2 separate regions of the Homo sapiens genome follow, and region 2 is linked to region 1. Evidence: promoter capture Hi-C in human tissues and cell types (Jung and others, 2019). All regions are on one chromosome and are shown on one strand. The core of a region is centred on a gene start or on the middle of the fragment in contact, and the rest is flanking DNA. Distances in the headings are between cores, read along the strand shown. Region 1 holds the start of SNORA68 (small nucleolar RNA, H/ACA box 68). Region 2 holds the start of JUND (JunD proto-oncogene, AP-1 transcription factor subunit).

Region 1 (4,469 bases), core at 673-3,172:
CGGAATTAACGCAGGCCCCTGCACAAAGTAGGGACTCAAGGACAATTGAGGCTGCAACAAAGGGATGGTGTGTGTGGGGTGGGGGTGGGCGCGTGGAGTTTGGGTAGAGGATTTGACATGACAGATGGGAGGATGTGTAAATGGATGGATGGGTGGGTGGATAGATGGATGGATGGATAAATGGATGTATGTATCGACTGGTGGGTGGTTGAATGGGTGAATGGATGGATGGATGGATAGATGGGTGGGTGGGTTGATGGGCAGGTGGGTGGATGGGTGGGTGGGTAGATGGATGGATGGATAGATGGGTGGATGGATGGATGGGTGAGTTGATGGATGGGTGGGTGGGTGGATAGCTGGATGGATGGCTGGATGGTTGGGTGGATGGATGGATGGGTAGGTGGATGAGTGGAAGGATGAATGGATGGGGTGGGTGGATTGAGTGGACGAATGGATGGACAGGTAGCTGGTTGGATGGTGGAGGAATCTGACTGAATGGAAGGATGGGGTTTGGCAGGGGGTGGGGGAATTCGGTGGTAGAGGGGCTTCTGGGCACATTTATGAGAGGCTGAGTGTGCCAAGGTAGGTGAATAGGTGCAGGCTAGTGATCTGGGAGCACATTCATCCTGTCAATGGCCCCTCAATAATGGGATTGGCCTCCATGTCTCAGCTGGTTGGGGCAGAGCTCTCCCAAGTGGTTCCCAGGCTGCTGCCACGTGGTTGAAGCCCTGGAGGGGCTCCAAGGCACAGGGAGGGGACTGAGGTGGAGATGAGGGTATGCAGTGGGCTTTGGTGGGGCCGTGAGCCTTCCACTCTCCTGATCTCTCATCCTCCAACTCACCTAATATCACCTCGCCTGCCCTGCAGCCTGGAGGGATCACCGCCCTCACTTTATACAGGAAGAAATGGCTCAGAGAGGGCAGGGACTTCCAGGCAGTTACGGCCTGAGTCCACAGTGCCACGCCCTGCTTCAGGCCCAGCTCAAGGTAAGGTAAGGTCACATCTAACAGAGCAGCTCCATTACAGCCTAAGCAGGACTCATGTCTCCTCCCCGTGTTCTAATCAAGGGGGTAGAAGGGTCAAGCCTCAGGGACGGGGGCAGCACTGCACAGGGTCAAGTACCGGAGATCCTTCTCCCTCACTGCTCCTGTGTGTTGCTTCTTCATAGTCCAAAATGACTGCTGCAGCACTGGCCATCATGTCCACACCAGCCAGAGGCGTTCTTTCTCAGAAATGGCACATCAGTACTGTATTTTTGTTTTGTTTGGTCTCGTCTTGTTTCCAGGCTGGAGTACAGTGGCATGATCATGGTTCACTGCAGCCTCAACCTCCAGGCTCAAGTGATTCTCACACCTCAGGCCCCCGTGTAGCTGGGACTACAGGTGTGCACCGCAACACCCAGCTAATGTTACTTGGTAAAGACAGGGTCTCACTATGTCTACCAGTCTGGTCTCAAACTCCTGGCCTCAAGTGATCCTCCTACCTCAGCCTCCCAAAGTGCTGAGATGACAGCCATGAGCCACACCTGGCCATAGCTATGGAGGTTAGGAAATGTATTTTCTTTTCTGGGTGGCACTTAAGTATGAAGATTCCCTTATGGAGAAAGGAGAGTTTGTACTAGAAACCACAAGATGAATGAAATTCAGGCAAAATTTTAAGATTTCCAGCTAGCACCCCCCATCCAATATACTCTAAGGAACATCAAAAGATATCCTGGGCTAGGCGGGGTGGCTCACACCTGTAATCCCAGCACTTTGGGAGGCCAAAGCAGGTGGCATGAGGTCGAGTTCCAGACTAGCCCGGCCCACATGGTGAAACCCCGTCTGTACTAAAAATACAAAAAATTTGCCAGGCGTGGTGGCAGGCACCTGTAATTCTAGCTACTCTGGAGGCTGAGGCAGGAGAATCCCTTGAACCTGGGAGGCAGAGGTTGCAGTGAGCTGAGACTGTGCCACTGCACTCCAGCATGGGCAACCAAGCGCGACTCCGTCTCAAAAAAAGAAAGATATCCTGGGAAAATGTATGACTCTTCTCAAGCTTTTGCCCCGCATATGTAAAGAGCTTTCACGAAACAAAAAGGATACCATGGAAAGTTGAGCCCCTCCTGGATACACTGGGTGACACACACAGCCCCTGCCCTCTCAGAACTAGTGGGGGATAGAAATCAAATATAGCCCAGTCCCGGGAACCCACGTGCAGTTTGTAAAACTCGAGTGAGGCCAGCCTGGGGGAATCTGTAGTATTCCAGGCAAGTGCGAAGGCCCTAGGGTGGGAAGGAGCCAGTTGTTGGGGACGGGACCCGTGGGGTTCTGTGGTCTACAGGGCTGTCCTCAGGCCTGGGTCTTACGCAGAATGGGTGCTTGTGTGCTGACCCTGCCCAGGTTCTGGGCGCCTCTCCAAGTTCCTGGGTGTTACAACACCCCACAGGTGAGGCTGGAAAAGGCCTGGTTTCCTGGAAACCACACAGCTCCTCCACAGGTAGAGGAAAGGCTGTGTCCTTGCCCTGAGTGTGGTGGTGCCCCTGTAGTCCCAGCTACTTGGGAGGCTGAGGCAGGAGGACCACTTGAGCCCAGGAGGTCGAGGCTACAGTAAGCCACGATCTCTCCACTGCACTCTAGCCAGGGCGACAGAGCAAGACCCTGTTTCAAAAAGCCGTAACTACTACCTAGTCCTGGCTTCCTCCTGGTCCTGGGCTCTCTGGGACAAAGGAGGGCCCCATAGGCTGACCCCAGCACCTGCACAGCGTCACTTCCCACATCAATGTGGAACCCGATGTTGAGATCAAGACAGCAAGCCCCAGAAGGGCCGCTGGCCCAGAACAGGGCTGCCCAAGGTCACGCAACAAAGGATGGGAGGCTCCCAGAGCCTGAGCTCTTGGCTGTGTCTCAAACTTCTCCAATGCCAGCTTAGCCTCCACCTGACAGAAGGACTCAGCCAGGGTGGGATTAGTGTCATGCCTGGAATTTTCCAGGCCTGAGGCAGTTTCCCAGAGATGAGTACCTGTGGTGAGTCCTTGACCTCCTTGGGCAAGATGAGGGCGTCATCTAAGAGGCCCCCAACCAGTGAAAGGGAAACAGCCCCCAAGCAGCAGAGAGCGCCCCTCGGGTGCCCACTTGTGTCTACTCTGAAAACTTTGGGAACCAGAGACTTAGGAGAATCCCCAGGGAGTGAACGCCAACCCCACTATCTAGGGAGATTCTCCCTGGTCCAGACTCAGCAGGGGAGCCTGGGAGGCCTGTGTCTCACAAGGCAGTTGGGACAGATTTAGGGCCCAGGACAGACAGTACCCCTGCAGCTCATAGCCCAGGGCTGCCAGCAGGGCTGAGAACTGACCAAGCAAGAGGGAGCTCAGGGGTGGGGGCGCCTGGAGGGCCCACTCCAGGACAGGAGGATGTGAGGGTTTGTTTGTTTGCACTGAAGACCCCTCCCAGGACAAAGAAATGGCAGCTCAGCTGCACCCCAGGAGCTGACTGGGCCGGCCTCTCATAGCACCCCTTTGAGCTCTGCAGTGTGCAAAGAAAACATGCGGCGAGCACCGGGGCGTTCCTGAGTTTATTTGGGGCACACCCGGACGAGGGCCCTGCACCTAGAAGAAGGTGTTGGGCCTCTTGGTGGTGAAGCGTGGCTTGTGCTGACGGCGCAGGACCCGGTGGGGCAGCGGGAACTTGATCTTGGAGTCCTGTGAGGAAGGGAGGCATGTTGAGGGGGTTGGAAGCCTCTTAACACCCCATCCTGTGGGGCCACCAAGGTGTAGCCGCCCCCCACTGGGCTCCTGCGTCAGAGCAGGCACTTCCCTCCAGGGGAGTCCCCCAGGGCACTCACGTGGAACTGCTTGACAGCCGGCCGGCGGCACTTGCTGGCCGCGATCTCCTCCACCTTCATGATCTGAATGGAGTGGGCTCGGGCGCGGTGCCGGGCACCCATGTCTCGGTCTGTGGAAAGGAGCGGGGCCAGGGTGACGGTGTTGCCTGGGCTCTGGGCATTCAGCAAACCTCCTGAGTGCCTGCCCAATGACCTGACACATCCTGTTGGTCACAGCAACTGCCTGAGGGCTCGGGGCTCACGGGAAGGTGGTGGTGGGGAAGCGAGATAGCCCAAGGCCTGGGTCCCTGCAGTCACTGGCCACTAGAGTTGTGGAACCTCCAAATTCACTTTGAGGGGCACGGCCACAGCCCCCCAAAGGCGACAAGATCCGCTTGCTGTTTGCACCTCTGTTTAAACCACCGCTATAAGAAACAGTGATTCTTGGGTTTAGGTGCAATCAGGGAGGTGTGGGGGTCTCACAGACCCTGGCAGGTGAGCCAGGGAAAAGGTGCCAGCTCCCAACACTAGGCAGGGGTTCAATTCGGTTCTCAGTGGGTCCCAGAAAACAGTGGTGATGTGGATCCCAGTCTAAACAAGGTGCAGACCCAAAAAGGGAGTTTCCAGATGTGATGTGATTTACAACCGAGCCTGGCAGGGCTCTCAGA
Region 2 (4,469 bases), core at 1,416-3,915, 420 kb before region 1:
TCCCAAAGTGCTTATTACAGGTGTGAGCCACCTCGCCCAGCCTATTTTTTTTTTCTTCTTTTTTTTTTTTGAGACAGTGTCTCACTCTGTAGCCCAGGCTGGAGTGCAATGGCGCAATCTCGGCTCACTGCAACCTCCACCTCCCGGGTTCAAGCGATTCTCCTGCCTCAGCCTCCCGACTAGCTGGGATTACAGGCACCTGCCACCACACCTGGCTAATTTTTTTTTCTTTTCTTTTTTCTTTTTTTTTTTTGAGACGGAGTCTCGCTCTGTTGCCCAGGCTGGAGTGTAGTGGTGTGATCTCGGCTCACTGCAAGCTCTGCCTCCCGGGTTCATGCCATTCTCCTGCCTCAGCCTCCCGAGTAGCTGGGGACTACAGGCGCCCGCCACCATGCCCGGCTAATTTTTTTTTTTATTTTTCAGTAGAGACAGGGTTTCACCGTGTTAACCAGGATGGTCTTGATCTCCTGACCTCGTGATCAGCCTGCCTTGGCCTCCTAAAGTGCTGGGATGACAGGCGTGAGCCTCTGCGCCCAGCCTAATTTTTATTTTCAATAGAGATGGGGTTTCACCATGATGGTCAGGCTGGTCTCAAACTCCTGACCTCAAATGCCTGCCTCAGACTTCCAAAGTGCTGGGATTACAGGCAGGAGTCACCGCGTGTGGCCGACAGGCCACCTCTCTTGGTGATGAGGACAGCCTCCCTTATGGCCTTCATGCCCCAGTTGGGGGCAGAGCCAGGTGAGTAAGGAGGATAGAAAAGGAGTAACGCATGCCCACTGGCCAGGCAGACAAACTGAGGCTAGAGACCACCCACACAAGCAACCTTTTGTTGCATTCACCTTTATTTTTTATTTTTTTTTGAGACTGGAGTCTCACTCTGTCTCCCAGGCTGGAGTGCAGTGGCACAATCTCAGCTCACTGCAACCTCTGCCTCCCGGGTTCAAGCGATTCTCATGTCTCAGCCTCCTGAGTAGCTGGGATTACAGGTGCACACCACCACACCCGGTTAATTTTCGTATTTTTTTTTTTTTTTGTATTTTTGTATTTCGGCCAGTCTGGTCTTGAACTGCTGACCTCAAGTGATCTGCCTGCCTCGGCCTCCCAAAGTGCTGGGATTACAGGCATGAGCCACCACACCCAGCCCCGCATTCACCTTTAATACTGAGCATCCATTCTATGCGAGGCCCTGTCAGCAGGCTCAGCATAGGCAATGTCCCTGACCTTCAGGGACTATGGTCCACTCCATCATTCTGGCAGATTCAGAGGCTACAATAAAGGAGTAAAGTCTGAGGGTGGGGCACTTCCTGAAGACACATCTTTGCACTGGGGGAAGGGAGTACCAAGCAGAGAGCATAGCACGTGCAAAGGCCCAGAGGTACGATTAGTCCTGCAACTGGGAGGCCAAGGATCAGAGAGAGTGAGGGGAAGGAGGTCAGGGAAAGGAGGGTGTGGGCTCCATTCAGACAGAGGTGGGGAGCTGGAGGGGTGCATGCAGAGGCTGTAGGTCAGATCCAGATGTCCTAAGGATCCCTTGTGAGTATTGGTGGGGTGGGTCCATCTCTCCTCCCTCACACCCCCTTCCCAGCCAGTCTTAATAGTGGCTCATTAAGCCCTAACAGCCATGATAGTGGTAACAAGCATGTAATAATTATACCCGGCATTCCTGCCTCATCAGCCCAGCCCCTGGAGTTGGGCACCCTCGCCCAGGACATCACAGCCCTGGCAGACCTGGGGTTAAAACGTGGGCGGCGGAAGGAAGGGGCTGCGCAGGGGCCTGGACTCCCAGGTTCTAGGGTTCTAAGGGTGGACAAGAGCTCAGGCCTAGTCACAGCCCGGGCCCTGCTGTGACTCCTAGCTAACTCTCGGGGGATGGTCACTCCACCTCTCTGAGCCCAGTTTCCCATCTGTAAAGGCAGGAAGTAGGACTCCTGGTTCTAGAACGCACTCAGTGAAAATGATCAGGATCCAAGCGCTTTCAGCAACTTCTGGCGACCCTCCTCTCCCCTCCCGTCTCTTCCTGAGCAATCACACGCGGGGTGGAGGGAGGGAGGGAAGGAAGGAGGGAGGGTGAGGAACGCAGACCTCCCCACACCCCCGGCGAGCCCCCGGACACAGCCCCACCAGGCCTCCAGCCCCGTATCCGCACAAAGCCTCTCCAGAAGGCGCGCTAGGGGAGGCCCTGGCGGCACAGCAGAGCAGGAGGCGCCAAGGAGTTATTTAGCCATGCGGGACCCCATCCCCCTCCAGTCCCCGGAGGCCGGCACCGCCCCCGCCCCCGCCCCCGCCCGGCCGGGGCCCCACGCGCGGACACGGGGCGGGGCCTCGGGGCGGGCGGGCGCCTGGTGGCCCGGGCCCATCACGCCACCCGGGACGTGCCTTGGCGGAGGCGGCGCCGGGGAGATCGGTCGTACACAGCGGTCCCGGGGCGGGGTGACCCGGCCCGGGCGCGCGGCCGCCCCCATGACGTCAACCCACAAGGCAGCGCGCTGTTGTGGCGTTTACCGCGCGTCGCCGGGGCAACGGCGGCCGGGCGGGCGTCGGCGGCTTGGCCCCGCCCCTCCATGCAAATGAGCGACGTCACCCGCACCCAATGGCGAACGGGGGCGGTGAGCTCATCGCGCCGAGCCGAGGCTATAAGAGGGCGCACAAGTGGCGCGGCGCAGGAGCCGCCGCCAGTGGAGGGCCGGGCGCTGCGGCCGCGGCCGGGGCGGGCGCAGGGCCGAGCGGACGGGGGGGCGCGGGCCCCCCGGGAGGCCGCGGCCACTCCCCCCCGGGCCGGCGCGGCGGGGGAGGCGGAGGATGGAAACACCCTTCTACGGCGATGAGGCGCTGAGCGGCCTGGGCGGCGGCGCCAGTGGCAGCGGCGGCAGCTTCGCGTCCCCGGGCCGCTTGTTCCCCGGGGCGCCCCCGACGGCCGCGGCCGGCAGCATGATGAAGAAGGACGCGCTGACGCTGAGCCTGAGTGAGCAGGTGGCGGCAGCGCTCAAGCCTGCGGCCGCGCCGCCTCCTACCCCCCTGCGCGCCGACGGCGCCCCCAGCGCGGCACCCCCCGACGGCCTGCTCGCCTCTCCCGACCTGGGGCTGCTGAAGCTGGCCTCCCCCGAGCTCGAGCGCCTCATCATCCAGTCCAACGGGCTGGTCACCACCACGCCGACGAGCTCACAGTTCCTCTACCCCAAGGTGGCGGCCAGCGAGGAGCAGGAGTTCGCCGAGGGCTTCGTCAAGGCCCTGGAGGATTTACACAAGCAGAACCAGCTCGGCGCGGGCGCGGCCGCTGCCGCCGCCGCCGCCGCCGCCGGGGGGCCCTCGGGCACGGCCACGGGCTCCGCGCCCCCCGGCGAGCTGGCCCCGGCGGCGGCCGCGCCCGAAGCGCCTGTCTACGCGAACCTGAGCAGCTACGCGGGCGGCGCCGGGGGCGCGGGGGGCGCCGCGACGGTCGCCTTCGCTGCCGAACCTGTGCCCTTCCCGCCGCCGCCACCCCCAGGCGCGTTGGGGCCGCCGCGCCTGGCTGCGCTCAAGGACGAGCCACAGACGGTGCCCGACGTGCCGAGCTTCGGCGAGAGCCCGCCGTTGTCGCCCATCGACATGGACACGCAGGAGCGCATCAAGGCGGAGCGCAAGCGGCTGCGCAACCGCATCGCCGCCTCCAAGTGCCGCAAGCGCAAGCTGGAGCGCATCTCGCGCCTGGAAGAGAAAGTGAAGACCCTCAAGAGTCAGAACACGGAGCTGGCGTCCACGGCGAGCCTGCTGCGCGAGCAGGTGGCGCAGCTCAAGCAGAAAGTCCTCAGCCACGTCAACAGCGGCTGCCAGCTGCTGCCCCAGCACCAGGTGCCCGCGTACTGAGTCCGCGCGCGGGGCGCATGCGCGGCCACCCTCCCCAAGGGGCGGGCTCGCGGGGGGGTGTCGTGGGCGCCCCGGACTTGGAGAGGGTGCGGCCCTGGGGACCCCCCCTCCCCGAGTGTGCCCAGGAACTCAGAGAGGGCGCGGCCCCCGGGGATTCCCCCCCCCCGAGGGTGCCCAGGACTCGACAAGCTGGACCCCCTGCTCCCGGGGGGGCGAGCGCATGACCCCCCCGCCCTCGCGCTGCCTCTTTCCCCCGCGCGGCCGCCCCGTGTTGCACAAACCCGCGCGTCTCGGCTGCCCCTTTGTACACCGCGCCGCGGAAGGGGGCTCCGAGGGGGCGCAGCCTCAAACCCTGCCTTTCCTTTACTTTTACTTTTTTTTTTTTTTCTTTGGAAGAGAGAAGAACAGAGTGTTCGATTCTGCCCTATTTATGTTTCTACTCGGGAACAAACGTTGGTTGTGTGTGTGTGTGTTTTCTTGTGTTGGTTTTTTAAAGAAATGGGAAGAAGAAAAAAAAATTCTCCGCCCCTTTCCTCGATCTCGCTCCCCCCTTCGGTTCTTTCGACCGGTCCCCCCTCCCTTTTTTGTTCTGTTTTGTTTTGTTTTGCTACGAGTCCACATTC

Evidence for each region. Contacts are between HindIII fragments. The study calls those that stand out against the background at their distance.
Region 2: the fragment with the promoter of JUND here is called in contact with a fragment that was not itself captured in region 1 in 1 of the 25 tissues and cell types used here (dorsolateral prefrontal cortex).

Annotation. Positions count from the first base shown.
Region 1 is chr19:17,862,381-17,866,849 of GRCh38, reverse strand. RPL18A (ribosomal protein L18a) reads right to left here. Exons shown (of 5, transcript NM_000980.4): 4 at 3,823-3,932; 5 at 3,531-3,679. The coding sequence ends at 3,587. SNORA68 (small nucleolar RNA, H/ACA box 68) reads right to left here and starts at 4,262; the gene lies at 4,130-4,262. RefSeq lists enhancers at 1,835-1,974, 3,714-4,448, 4,449-4,469. The HindIII fragment of the contact is 9,841 bases long and covers 1-4,469 here.
Region 2 is chr19:18,279,818-18,284,286 of GRCh38, reverse strand. It overlaps JUND (JunD proto-oncogene, AP-1 transcription factor subunit), which reads left to right and starts at 2,665. Exons shown (of 1, transcript NM_005354.6): 1 at 2,665-4,469. The coding sequence starts at 2,803. The coding sequence ends at 3,846. It overlaps MIR3188 (microRNA 3188), which reads right to left and starts at 2,210; the gene lies at 2,126-2,210. LOC124904652 (a long non-coding RNA gene) reads right to left here and starts at 2,195. Exons shown (of 2, transcript XR_007067154.1): 1 at 1,157-2,195. RefSeq lists silencers at 2,187-3,186, 3,767-4,076 and an enhancer at 2,680-3,531. The HindIII fragment of the contact is 27,320 bases long and covers 1-4,469 here.